3 separate regions of the Homo sapiens genome follow, and regions 1 and 3 are each linked to region 2. Evidence: promoter capture Hi-C in 16 types of primary human blood cells and fetal thymus (Javierre and others, 2016). All regions are on one chromosome and are shown on one strand. Each heading gives the region's core, a stretch centred on a gene start or on the middle of the fragment in contact. The rest is flanking DNA. Distances are from core to core; before and after follow the strand shown.

What was found. The method cuts DNA at HindIII sites, captures the fragments that hold promoters and counts their contacts. A CHiCAGO score of 5 or more calls a contact.
Region 1: the fragment with the promoter of ZNF619 here is called in contact with the fragment with the promoter of RPSA in region 2 in 11 of 17 cell types (non-activated CD4 T cells, activated CD4 T cells, naive CD8 T cells and 8 more); the score reaches 10.1 in non-activated CD4 T cells.
Region 3: a contact is called between the fragment with the promoter of OXSR1 here and the fragment with the promoter of RPSA in region 2, in 7 of 17 cell types (naive CD4 T cells, total B cells, naive CD8 T cells and 4 more). The highest score is 11.0, in naive CD4 T cells.

What each region holds. Positions count from the first base shown.
Region 1 is chr3:40,475,418-40,479,634 of GRCh38, reverse strand. It overlaps ZNF619 (zinc finger protein 619), which reads right to left and starts at 2,513. Exons shown (of 5, transcript NM_001145093.4): 1 at 2,278-2,513; 2 at 1,632-1,717. The coding sequence starts at 1,655. RefSeq lists an enhancer at 2,200-2,339. The HindIII fragment of the contact is 7,181 bases long and covers 1-4,217 here.
Region 2 is chr3:39,405,250-39,410,064 of GRCh38, reverse strand. It overlaps RPSA (ribosomal protein SA), which reads right to left and starts at 3,345. Exons shown (of 7, transcript NM_002295.6): 1 at 3,301-3,345; 2 at 2,279-2,444; 3 at 1,341-1,459. The coding sequence starts at 2,411. It overlaps SNORA6 (small nucleolar RNA, H/ACA box 6), which reads right to left and starts at 1,674; the gene lies at 1,526-1,674. RefSeq lists enhancers at 456-1,247, 3,312-3,451, 2,833-3,624 and silencers at 1,517-1,566, 2,962-3,141. The HindIII fragment of the contact is 4,276 bases long and covers 1,424-4,815 here.
Region 3 is chr3:38,163,842-38,168,556 of GRCh38, reverse strand. OXSR1 (oxidative stress responsive kinase 1) reads right to left here and starts at 3,020. Exons shown (of 18, transcript NM_005109.3): 1 at 2,611-3,020. The coding sequence starts at 2,680. LOC101928234 (a long non-coding RNA gene) reads left to right here and starts at 3,081. Exons shown (of 5, transcript XR_940733.2): 1 at 3,081-3,160. RefSeq lists silencers at 2,526-2,575, 2,626-3,015 and enhancers at 2,247-2,862, 3,256-3,355, 3,626-3,755, 3,906-3,985, 3,146-4,345. The HindIII fragment of the contact is 1,868 bases long and covers 2,966-4,715 here.

The sequences.
Region 1 (4,217 bases), core at 1,264-3,763, 1.1 Mb before region 2:
TCATTAGCTGTTAACTTTGGATGAGACAATTAAACTTTCTGTGCCTCAGTTGCCCCCATTTGTAAAACTGGGATAACAATAGTAATTATCTGAAAGGACTCTTACAAGAATGGCATTAAGTTATTATCTGTAACGCACGAAGATATCACCTGGCACATGATATCATCTAAATCTCAGCACTTACTACAACCACAGATGAGATTGGGGGAACTTCCTAGAAGATTCTAAATGACAAATGTTCCTCTTAGAGATTGTAGCAAAGACTGACAGGTGTGTGTGTACCCCCTTTCTTTCTTAGTATTGGAATCCTAATTTTACTTGAGGTTGCACTCAACCCGGGCAACCAAGTGGGGCCAATGAAATGCAAGTATAAATATTGTTGGGGACTTATGGGAAGGTTCCTAAAAGAGAGAGGTTCATCTTTTTTTGGGCAGCTCCTCTTCTAGCTGGAATGCACACATGATGGCTAGAGATCAAGCAGCCACCTTGGACAATAAAGTGGCCTAGAGCAGGTGAGACACTGCTAGGATGGTAGAGCAGAAAGACAGAGCCTGAGAGCATAATAGGGGAGCTGCCACACTAGCCCTGTATTGACTCTTGATACTTTTGTATGAGAGAGAAGCCTTTACCTCGTTTAATCCACTGTCATTTGGGGTCCTCTTTGGGGAATCTAATCCTAAGTGATTTCTGTACTTCAGGCAAAGCACCAGGAGAGCACAGCATACCCCCACAGCACACTTCCTGACTTGTAGGAATGAATTTTTGCTGAAGTTCTCGAACAGAAGTGGATGGTCCAATATCCACCAAAAGGACACACACATTGTTTTTAAGTCCTTGGGATGGAGCTTTCTCATTACAAGATACATCCATTACATGATAAACTCAGCTTTCTCATTCCATGATCTAGGACACTGGAGAAAAATCCAGTAAAACCATCATCTACCACCAAGAAAACTGGAGGGAAAAGTCCTCCCAATGCTACATGAATTTGTAGCCAAGAAAGGATATAGACTCTCACAGAGGTTAGACTGACGTCTTCGCATTGAGCTAAAGGCACTGGCTTCAGCTCCAAACTCATCATTCCTCCAAAAATACATCTCCCTCATCAATCTACATTTTCCACATGTTTCCAGTTCTGGCTTCACTGTACCTTAACTGAGTGGTCTGCAGGGTAAACTCCTCCCTTGGAAGTGTCTATTTAACCTCAGAAATGGCTTTTCTTTGTGTACTGTGAACGCAGACTAGCACTCCTCAAATTTTAATCTGCCCTTTAATTTTCCAGATCTTGTAAAAATGTAGATTCTGATTTAGGAGATCTGGGGAGGGGGCCTGACATTTTGCCTAACAAGAGCCCTCTGTAATGCAAAAGCTGCTCATCTCCAGGCCACACTTTCAGTTCTCATGAATGCAGATTCCCACTTTCTAGGATAATTCATTCCTTCTTTTCCAACCTACCTGACTCTCCCAAATTCACCTACTCTCGTTCGTCAACTCCCCTCGCATACTGTTTTTACATACTTTATTGAAGGATGTAAAACTAAGCATGAGACTGGCCAAGTCAGGCTACTGGGGCTGTACTGACCTTCCATATCTGTTCTGAGTATGGAAAGCTGAAAGAAAGCTCTGCTCACCTGGAACCACACTGTCTGGAGCATGGCTGATGACCCCTGGCTTCATGCACTGCCCTCTAGGTTTGAAAAAGTAAGAACCTGCGGAGCTAAGAGAGAACCACAATGAGACTGATCTGTCTCGTCTCCTACACTTGCCGCCTCTTCCCCTCTGTCTCCTGCCACTAGCATTGCAGATATTCTTGGCACACTAGCTGCTGTCATTCACCCTCTCCACTGATTCATGGGATGTTGCAAATGCTCCCTCTGCATATTCTCCTATAGATCTGCTTGGTGACACTGGAAACTCTAGAAAGAATATCTGTAAAGTAAGAGTCAAGAACTGCAGTGGATTCGTGGCTGTTTTTTAAAAAAAATTCTTGGCCCCACTATGAATGCATTACTAAACAGTTTGTATTGAATGCTTCTAGTGTTCATGGCAAAAACCCAAAACAAGTCTCTGGAGAGAAAGTAGGATATAACGGGGACCCCTAAACAAACCACAGGCTGCAGGACAAAATATAAGTGGTGACCCAGCCCCGGGTGACAAGGGTAAGACGCTTAATGTCCCAGCGGGTGATGCTGACCGAAGACCTAACCGGGATCTGAACGCTCCACCCTGGGAAGCAGGAGACCCTATAGTCACGGCTCCCATCCTCCCCATGAATACCGCGACCCGAGGACATCAGGCCAGCTCCTCGGAGCAGGAAGGTCGAGGGCGTCTCTGAAGACTGGGGACTGGGCCCAGGCTCTGGCGGCGGCGCGGGCCCCTCGGCGACCTCTGCAAGGGCCCAAAGCCTGACCTCCAGAACAGGTAGCCGAGTCAGGGAAGCCCGGGAAACTCAACCCGAGCGCTCGCAAGGTGGCCAAGACGGAAGCATTAGCTGGCCGGCCGTCGGTCCCTACAGCCTCTCTAGGAAGCCGGGAGGCTGGCCCTTCTCTATGGTTCCCACGAAACGAAACTCCAACCCTTCGCTTCCCTTCTCCACAACCGCTCTGCGCCTGGTTTGTTTGTTTTTTAATTTTAATTTTTTCGTGTGTTTTTTGAAACGGGGGTCTCGCTATGTTGCGCAGGCTGTTCTCGAACTCCTGAGCTCAAGCTGTCCGCCCGCCTCGGCCTCCCAAAGTGCTGGGAATACAGGCGTGAGCCACCGCGCCCGGCCGCTCCTGTTTTTCTTTATTATTTTCTCTTATGTCTTAGTACCCCAACTACATGATAAATTCCTCCATATTTAACAATTTGTAACTTAATTAACTGAATTCCTAATTCCTTACCTAATTACTTAATTCCTAACTTAACCTTCTAATGAATTTATAGCCCCTGTCTCCCACTGAATGACTGTGACCTAAGACCATGGGGTATGGTGTCTCATTGTCTGCGTTCCTGGCTCCACTCTATATGGACTTGCTCAAGTTATACTTAAATCGTTGCCTCAATTTATCAGTTGAGAATGGTAAAAGTTTGTAATTTATAAATTCAGTGAATTAACTGAGTCAATTCATGCAACAGTTTTGTAAACCAAAAATAAAATTCTAAGTCCCCCAACCAACTGAATGGACCACTTCTCTCAGCCAAAACATTCCAAAGAAAACCTGGCAATCTAGTTCAGGCCATGATGGGAAGCAGGGGATCGGACTTGCCTCGTTATGCCCTTGGAATTCAGGCACTACGGACCAGCATTAACATTAAAACAGAGATCTTGAGACTGACTAAAACTTTTTTTTTTTTTTTCCGAGATGGAGTCTTACTCTGTAGCCCAGGCTGGAGTACAGTTTCCCGATCTCGGCTCACTGCAACCTCCGCCTCCCGGGTTCAAGCAATTCTCCTGCCTCAGCCTCCTGAGTAGCTGGGATTACAGGAACGTGCCAACACGCCCGGCTAATTTTTGTATTCTTAGTAGAGACGGGATTTCACCATGTTGACCAGGCTGGTCTTGAACTAGACCTCGTGATCGCCCGCCTCGGCCTCCCAAAGTGCTGGGATTACAGGCGTGAGCCACCACGCCCAGCCCAAAACAAACTCTTTATAGCAATAAGACATCAAATTCTAACCTGACTCTAGTATAGTCTCATGTGACAGATAACAGGCCCTGAAATAAACTGAAGTATTTTACCCTAAAATGTATTTCTTTGACATATTTTGAAATGACCCTGTAAAGCTGTCTTTTGTGAAGAAAATCTACATCCTGTAAAGAATCCCCTTCACTTTCAAAGTGTTTTCCTTGATCCAGTAGAGAATTAACTAAGAGTTTGGCACCTTTTGAAGTCTGGTAAGAAACATTTACAATCGTTTCTCTCTGAAGCCTGCTACCTGGAGGTTTCATCTGCATAATAAGAACATTGGTCTCCAAAACCCCTTATCTTAACTCAGACATTCCCTTCAATTGATTCCAGGTCTTTAGCTAATAACTTTTTTTTTTTTTTTTTTTTTTTGAGACAGAGTCTTGCTCTGTCGCCCAGGCTGCAGTGCAGTGGCGCGATCTCGGCTCACTGCAAGCTCTGCCTCCCGGGCTCATGCCATTCTCCTGCCTCAGCCTCCTGAGTAGCTGGAACTACAGGCGCCCGCCACCATGCCCAGCTAATTTTTTGTATTTTTAGTAGAGACGGGGT
Region 2 (4,815 bases), core at 2,096-4,595:
GCTGCCTCAACCTCCTGTGTTCTAGCAATCTTCCCACCTTAGCCTCAGCTGAGACTACAGGCACGCCAACACCACACCCAGCTCGTTTTTGTTAATTTTGGTAGAGACGGAGTTTTGCCACGTTGCCCACCCTGGTCTCGAACTTCTGGGCTCAAGCAAGCCACCAGCCTCAGCCTCACAAAGTACCCCATATTACAAAAGCATGAGCCACCCATGACTGGCTTTTTTAAGAAACAGGATCTCACTCTGTGCCCCAGGCTTGGAGTGCAGTGGCAAAATCATAACTTACTGCAGCCCCCAGCTCCTGGACTTGAGGGATCTCCTGGCTCAGACTCCCAATTAACGGGAACTATGGGTGCATGCCGTCATGACTGGCTAAGATTCTTAAAAAATTTCTGTCCCAGTATTTCATTGTTTTAAGGTAAAAACTTTGACTATGGGAAAATGTGATAAGCCACTTTAATAGAATTTCTAGATATTTAGTGGCACAAGTCTACACAAAATGAAATTATAAAGTTCAACATACTGCCAGATGCCCAGCATGTATGTTGAAAAGGTCTTACAGGCTGGGCGCAGTGGCTTACGCCTGTAATCCCAACACTTTGGGAGGCCGAGGTGGGAGGATCACTTGAGATCAGGCGTTTAAGACCAGCCTGGCCAAATGGTAAAACCATGTCTCTACTAAAAATACAAAAATCAGTCAGGCATGGTGGCACATGCCTGTAATTCCAGCTACTCGGGAGGATGAGGCAGGAGAATCCCTTGAGCTTAGGAGGCAAAGGCTGCAATGAGCCGATATCACACCACTGCAGTCCAGGATGGACAACAGGCAACAGAGCGAGAGACTGTCTTGAAGGAAAAAAAAAAAAAAAAAAAAAAAGGAAGGTCATAGGTCATAAGGGCGATTTCTATGGCTCAGTCCAACTTAAGATCTCTTAACAGTGGAGTTTGAGTTTTCTATTTTCTTTTTTTTTTTTTTTGAGACAGAGTCTCGGCTCTGTCACCCAGGCTGGAGTACAGTGGCGCATCTCAGCTCACTGCAAGCTCCGCCCACCGGGTTCACGCCATTCTCCACTTTGGCCTCCTGAGTAGCTGGGACTACAGGCACCCGCCCCCACGCCCAACTAATTTTTTGTATTTTTAGTAGAGATGGGGCTTCACCGTGGTGTGGATCTCCTGACCTCGTAATACGCCGGACTCCACCTCCCAAAGTGCTGGGATTACAGGCGTAGCCACCGCGCCCGGCCTGAGTTATTTCTGTTTTCTTATGTCTTTCTATGTCTCACAATGTCTGTAAGCTTTATTTCTATAATATAAAAACTAACCACTGTTCCACAAACCTGGCCAGTATTCCTGGAGGATATAACACTGACATCAGCAGGGTTTTCAATGGCAACAATTGCACGAGCTGCCAGCAGAAGCTTCTCCCAGGTCCTCTTGAGATTTATGATATAGATGCCTAAGTGAGGGCAGAAGGATTTGTAACACTTGACCTGGCTGTGCAAACATTCTTCTCAAGTTTACTCTATGTGGCAGCGAGTACTACCAAACTCCAGTCATAGAGGCAAGCTCTACTGGTGTTAGCGAAAATCCTGCCATTGATATAGCACACTTCCGACACTCAGAAGTTCATGAGCCAAGACTGGCCTCCACCCTGAGCTTTAATAGTGTGCAGCCTAGATTCAGTTGGCTAAATCCATCTTTCCTTTCTCTTTCCCTGTACTTATTCCATCATTGGTTCTTAATAATCCACTTCCTGGCTTTCTGCCACTCTTTCCCTTTTATAATCTGCACTGATGCAAGATTCATCCTAAAACTCCTTTACAGCATGTCACTCCCAAGTCCTTGGTAGCTTTATCTCTAAAATAAGTAAGTGCCTTAGCCAACTTAATGCCTTCCATCCTCTGGTTCTTCCAAACCATATTGTTCATTCCCACCTCTTACCCCACTTTCCACTCAAAATTCAGTTCAATAGCCTGTGTAAGTACCTATGAAGTTGAAGGCACTATGCGAGCTATTAGAAACTCAGCCAATGAACTTTCTCATGTTCATGACCCAACCCAAGTCCCGTAACTCAGACAACTGACATATTCCTCCCCTGGAGCAGAAATCTTTTCTCTCAATAACAAGAACATTTATTTAAAGTATGTTTTCAACGTAGGGGTCTGGCTTCATTTAAGGAAGATAGAAAGAAATTACCCAGAACTAACCACGAGAATAGCAAGCTCAAAATTTGTACTTACAGCTGGAGTAACAAAAAATTAAAGCAATGACTAACCATCACTTTTCCTTTTATAGATGTACTGTTCCATCTGGAAGTCAAGATTGGTGCCACCTAAGTGGGTTCCTGCTGCAAGGAACTTAAGGACATCCTCCTCCTTCATTTGCAGGACATCAAGGGCTCCGGACATTGTGAAAATTTCCCTTTAAGTTACGACGGGAATCTGAAATAAGAGAGCAACCTATTTCTTTTCATTCCATTGAGTTAAGTAGGGCACACCCTTAAAAGCAACCAAAAACTCCATCTGCTATAGTGTCAGGCATTGAGCTTACAGTGTAGTGAAGGGTAAACAGAAAGTTAACCCATACATGTCGTGTATTACGGAACAGCGCACATCTTACTGAGGAAATAGTGTGGACGGCAGAGTAACCGAGTAATAAAACTACACGAAATTAGCGAATGGAAATTCAACACTTCTCAAGATAGGAATTAAGGAAAAGTTGTGGATGCGCCAAGTTAACAACTAGATACAAAAGAGCAGCCATGTTTGGAATATGCAAACTAAAGGCAAAAAAGGCATGAATTGTTTTCAGACATTTTCAAGCAGATTGTAGGCGGATGCTTTGGAATTACTTCGCTGTGCTGTCACCACTTGTTTGTCTAAAAACCCGAGAACCTTAACTCCTGACCCGCACGGCGCGAAGGGAAAACCCGACCAGCCCAAGTAGCTGGTGTAAATCAGCGCCTGGGCCTAGACTCACCGCCGTGTGGGACTCCGAAGGGATAGCAACACAGGATGTTAGCCCGCTTTCTGCACTCCCGCCCACCCGCGGCCTGGTCCGAACCCCAGCTCGGAGCCTCCGCTGGAGGGCGGCCTCCACCCGCTCCCGGGGCACTCTGGGAACCCGCCAGCCCGAGCCTGGCCACGTGCGGGCCGCAGGCCTAAGGTGGGGCGCGCCGGGCGGGAGACAGATCCAGTCTGACCGGCTTTCATCACTAGTCTTCTCACCCTTCATTTGAGCAGGAAAAGCTCATTTTTCTAGCCCTGGAAGGCGCCAGGGACGCTACACGGAACTCACCCAGAACAACGCCGTATGGACCCCTCTGCAGGTAGCACGGAAAAGACAGGCGGCAGGAAATGACGTCCTTATGTACTCCGTTGTCAGCCAATGGCAAAGAAAGTCGAGCGGAAGAAGGGCGGAGCCGGAGAAGAACGCTGCCGGGACTGGGCTTTTTCTTCAGGAAGGCGGGCTTGCGCCGCAGGAGCGGGCCTCTGGGCTGTAGCCGGTAGCGGCATCCTGGTCGGATCTGGGGCGCTTGTGACTTTGGGGTTTCTAGTGCCACAGCGACGCCCTGTGCATAATTCCTGTCCAGAGCGCGGAACTCAAGTTAGTCAGCCAGGCGGGGCGTTCTTACCCAGCCCTTGTACCTGCGAATATGAGCGGCTTTCTAGCCTAAGCTGCCATTTTGTTACCTGAAAAGTAGGAAGGTTTGTTCGACACAACAAATTGTTAGGTAAACAAAAACTTGAAGATTTATTTTATTTTATTTTCCTGGAGAACAGTTTAACAGGACGTAATTCAGATTTAAATGTTCACTTAAGGGAAGTTTTCTCTGAAAAAGTTAAAAAAGATAAGATTGAACTGATCGTATGCGTTATGTCTATCTCATGTATCTATCCATCTATCACCTGGGGGAAGTTTCCCTGAAAAAGTTAAAAAGGACAAGATTGAACAGATGGTATGGATTATATCTATCTTTTTTTTTTTTTTTTTTTTGGTAGAAGAAAAATTTTGCAATATCCATCAGTAGGAGATAAGTTTGCCGGGCGCGGTGGCTTGTGCCTGTAATCCCAGCACTTTGGGAGGCCGAGGTGGGTGGATTGCCTGAGCTCAGAAGTTCAAGACTAGCCTGGGAAACATGGGGAGACCCCCATCTCCACAAAAAATACAAAAATTAACCAATCATGATGGTGCGTCCCTGTAGTCTCAGCTACTCAGGAGGCTGAGGCAGGAGGATAGCTTGAGCCTAGAGGTCAAGTCTGCAGTGAATGTGATTGCACCGCTGCACTCCAGCCTGGGCAATAGAGCGAAATTCTGTCTCCAAAAAACAAACAAAAAAATAGGAGTTAATTGAAGGGGCGCGGTGGCTGTAATCCCAGCACTTTCGGAGGCTGACGCGGGCGGATCCCTTGAGGCCAGGAGTTCAAGAGACCAGCCTGGCCAACATGGCGAAACCCGGTATCTACTAAAAATTCAAAAATTAGCCAGGCATGCCTGTAATCCCAGCTACTGGGGAGGCTGAGGCGGGAGAATTGCTTGAACCCAGGAGGCAGAGGTTGTAGTGAGTGGAGATTGCGCCACTTGCACTCCAGCCTGGGCGACAGAGTAAGACTCCGTCAAAAAAAAAAAAAGTGCAGGTTCCTCTCTGGGGCCTGCTGAGTCAATCTGATTTCTGAGCCCACCCTAAAATGAACTCGTAGACCCTTATGGCCACTCTTCCAAAGGACAGCACATCCAGGTTCTCCTGCAAGTGGCTCTGCAGCTCCACTGAAGCCAGTATGATTTTCTGAGGAGCTTGGAAACCCTTGGACC
Region 3 (4,715 bases), core at 1,771-4,270, 1.2 Mb after region 2:
ATTTTAATCAGGTAAATCTTATGGTACGTAAATTATATCTCAAAATTGTTTTTTTAAATGAAAAAATATTTATGCTAAGTGGAAGAAACCAAACATGAAAGACCACATGTTATATGATCCCATTTATATAAATGTCCAAAAAAGGCAAGTCCATAGAGACAAAAAGTAGATTTGTGGTTGTCTAAGGCTGGAGGTGGAAAAAGGGATTAACTCGTAAGAAAGCACAAGAGATCTCACGGGGATGATGGAAATATTCTAAAACTGGATTATGGTGATAGTTGTACGACACAGGGAATTTACTAAAAACCACTAAATGTTACACTTAAAATGGGTGAATTTTATATTAAATTATACCTCAGTAAAGTTGTTTTAAATCTATGAAAGATGGTCAAATCACATTGGAGTTCCTAACCTTTTAAAAACCATGGACCACTTTGTGAATGTGAGGAACACTAACCCTATCCAGAAGACTGAGAGACTCCCTTTTGCCCACTCACAGACATCCTATGGGTCTGAGGACACCAAATTAACAAATCACGAAATCTCTAGCGCCTTTGCAACTCTGAAATTCTCTGCCACCTTAACAGCAAAGGCTTTGAGAATGACTACAACCATCCTCTTCACCCTAGAAAGATGGATACACTACCAGAAAAAAAAAAAAAAAACTCTTCTTTTAAAATGATGATAGGGAACCTCCTCTTTACTTCTCTGACATCATTTTGGAATCTTCCATTTAATCCTTTCCTTCAATATGAAACTCTGACTGGGGGAACCAGAAGCAATCAGTCCAGACCGGGAACTAGCTGTCTTTAGAACCAACGAATACATGTCAAAGACCCAATATGTAGCAAGGACACAGGCCCATGAAGTGGCTTAAGCAAAGATGTGATGTCTTTATTTAGTCCGAGTTGTTTTGTTTTGTTTTTGTTTTTCCTATACGAACCAATATTGCTTTAAGCCCAGATTGTCTTAAAACAAGAGGCAAGTAAAAACAAAAATTATTTCACGAAGTTCTTTTTAAACCCACAGTGAAATAAACACTGACACCCCCAAGGCAGCTAGGAAGTCTTCAGTTGGTCTTTGTTATAAAACTAATTTTAGGGCAGGATGCTGGCAAAGCAGATAATTCGCCTTCCTCCAATACACAGGTGTCTGCTCATGTCCGTTGGATTGAGCCTGTATAGCTAAACATTTTGATTTCCAAGGTCACTGGGTTATTGTTGTCCAACAAATACTCCCCTCATCCCCAGTCCCCAGCCTCCTCCCAATCCCTAGGCTTCTGTGAGAATTACAATCTATGTGCAAGTTTTGGTCTCTGCCAACTGGTATTCCTGGACCCCCTTCAAATCTTTTCACACACCAGCCCAATTTATCGGATCACGTCAAGGCACTATTTGAGGGCCTCCAGTGATACTTAAAATTCCAAAATCTGTACCAAAGCTGAGAAGATCCCTAAGATCTGGCTCCTCCCTTCCCTCTCTATCCTTGCCAGCCTTCCTTCAGGTCCTAAAACAAATCAAGCTCTTCCCTTACTCAAGGCCACTGCATCTCTATATCCCTCTGTAAGGAAAAATCTTCCCGAGGCTCTTAATCCTCACTTCTCATGCTTCAGGGCTCAACTGAAATGTTATCGCCTCAGAAAAAGAATTTTCCTTGAAATCACCCTAAGTAGATCTCCAGGTTATTCTCTATCAGAACATCTTGTTTATCTCCTTCATGGCACTTGCCAAAGCCTCTTCAAATTTTTTTTTTTTTTTTTTTTTTTTTGAGTCAGAGTCAGGGTTTGTCGCCCAGGCTGGAGTGCAGTGGCGCGATCTCAGCTCACTGCAAGCTCCGCCTCCCGGGTTCAAGGATTCTTCTGCCTCAGCCTCCCGAGTAGCTGGGATTACAGGCGCGCACCACCACACCCAACTAATTTTTGTATTTTTAGTAGAGACGGGGTTTCACCATATTGGCCAGGCTGGTCTCGAACCCCCGACCTCGTGATCCGCCCGCCTCGGCCTCCCAAAGTGGTGGGATTACAGGCGTGAGCCACCACGCCCAGCCCTTCTTACTTCTTTTTGTCTTCTTATTTAATGTCTACCTCCCCGACTGGAAAGTCAGTTGGAAGGAGTCGTAAGTTGGGTCTCGGTTGCTCAGCGCGGTTCCTGCAGCTTCACCTGGAGGATCCCCAGTTCGCCCCAGCACGGATGGAGGAAAAACTTAAAGCTCCCTATCTATCCCACAATCCCAGAAATCGATGGCTGTGCCCACTTCAAGATCCCATTTCTCACACAGCCTCGGAAAGGCCTGTCCCACACCTGCACTTTCTTTCTCTACAAGACACATGGGCCGCTCCTGTCCACACATTTGAGAATCCTGTACACAAATCTCTCCTGAGCCCCCTCAAGCCTCACCCCACCCCACGCCACCTCACAGGCGCGCGCCTCAAAACCCCCTTCCCGTCTCACACGCGCTCCTCGACACAAGCGTCCTACAAGCCCCCAGCCCCACAAGCGCCCCACGAATTCCTATGAGGGCTGCGCTCCCCGAGCTCCCGCGGCTCCCCACGTTCCCGTGTCCCCCGCCTCCCAGCGCCGCGCCTCCCCCCTCCGCAGCGCCTGCTCTCACCGATCACCTCCTGCAGCTCGTAATCGTCCCTGTTGATGGACCAGGGCAGGGCGCTCGAGTCCTCGGACATGACGGCGGCAGCGGCTCGCGGTCCTCCCTCAAACTCGCTGACCTCGCTCGTCTCCTCGCCGCGCGTCTCCCCACCCCCAACAGCCGCCGCCGCCGCCGCCGCGCCCCCACCAATCGTCTCGGAACAGCCACGGGTCGGACGGCGCCGGGGCGCGGGGTCACCGCGCGGCAGAGCAGCGGGGGCTCAGAGCTCCGGCGGACCTCGCCTCCTGCTCCTCCGAGTCCGGCACTGCCCGGCCCAGCCCACGTCCTGTCCTCGGCCTCCGCAGCAGCAGCGACAGAAGCTTTGCCTGGGCCCAGCCCCTCTGTCCCGCCCTCCACCCCAGCCCCACGCACGGGCCAAACTTTCCCCTCTTCCTCCACCTGCCGACACGCAGCGCGCTGACGTCACTGCGCTGGTCACGCCCCACCTCGGGCCCGCCTCCGGCCGCCATCTCCAGTGTGGCTGGATGTAAAGTGAGCAAGCTAGAAACCCGAGAAGGTAGGAGTTCGCGGTGAAAGGGAAGAAGTGCTTAGGTAGAGGTTCATCGAAGGCATCGAAAAGCCGTAGGAGAGCCTCAAGTAGCACAGAGGCAGTAGCCACACTAAGCATGGCGACCAAAGGGCAGCAAAGTAGAAGGGGCAGAGCCACTTCTAGCGCCTGGGGCACGCTGCTGTCTCCGTCGTCGCATTCATTGGTTTGTTTGAGAAGGAATCAGAAAAGCAATGGGTGTGGGTAGACGTCAGTCATAAATTGGTCCCGCCTCCAGGCTCTTAGCGCGCTTCTCCGTGTTAGGGCTGCAGCCCTTCAAGAGCTCCGTTACCGCGCTCGTCTTACCACTTCCTCTGGAGTGACGTCACGGCGTAACCGTCACACCCTCGAGACGTGCGAAAGGCTCTACAGGGTGTGGAGAAACCCTGAGGGAGCGGCTGGGTGGGGTAGCCTTTGGGTGTGGACCACTGCCAACTAGGATAAAAGGCCTTGGGCCACTGGTCGGAGTGAAACTGGAAGTTTGCCTGGTGACATTTTTTTCAAGGCGGACGTTCTCTCTAACGCTTGTCGCGGCGCTGTCTCTCGCGGGTCCACCCTGCACTGGGCGGGTTCTGTCCATTCGCAGCTTTAGATCTGAAGCTCAAATAAGCACCTGCCTTGAGGGACTCGGGAGGTTGTCTTTCTTCCCCCCGGACAGGGCTTGGGGTATTAAACAAGTGAGATCGACCCACGGATTTGGGGGTTGTCTCACGGGCGTTGGCTTTTGTCGCCCCCACTGAACAGTTTTCTCAGTTTGACTACGTACGGCCGTTAGAGAAATTAGCGAGCTGAAGACTGAACACGCTTGGTAAATTGGATTTTAAAAAATAATGAGCATCCAACAGGGATAGGGCTAGGTGCGAAACTGTTCTAGGTTGGACACCTTTCAGTCCAACGGCAGTCTTTAAGGAAGAGACCTTAGGCCGGGTGCGGTGGCTCACGCCTGTAATCCCAACACTTTGGGAGGCGGAGGCGGGCGGACCACCTGAGGTCAGGAGTTCGAGACCATCCTGACCAACATGGTGAAACTCCCTCTCTACTAAAATACAGAAAAATCGCTGGGCGTGGTGGCTGGCGCCTGTAATCCCAGCTACTAGGGAGGCTGAAGCAGGAGGCGAAGGTTGCAGTGACCCGAGAGCATGCCACTGCACTCCAGTCTGGGCAACAGACGGAGACACCGTCTCAGAAAAAGGAAGAGACCTTCACCTAGGCCCAGCTGAGACGGAGCAGGGACCCCTTTTAGGGCCTGCAGGCCCTCAACCATGGAAATAAAGGAAAATCTTGAGTTACTTCAAGAGAAATTCCCGGCACTTAGCTAGCCTTGAAAAGTTAATGAACCCCTTGATAAGCAAGAGGGCAGTAATAACTTTAAACATTAGCCAAAGAAACTAAAATAACTGGATGTTTGGTTCCCTATAAAAACTAAAGATAACATCAACACATGTCCCTGAGTTGTTTTTTAGAAACCCAGACCCCCACCAAATGGATCTGCTGGCACATAGACCTCAGAGAATGGGGAGCTAAG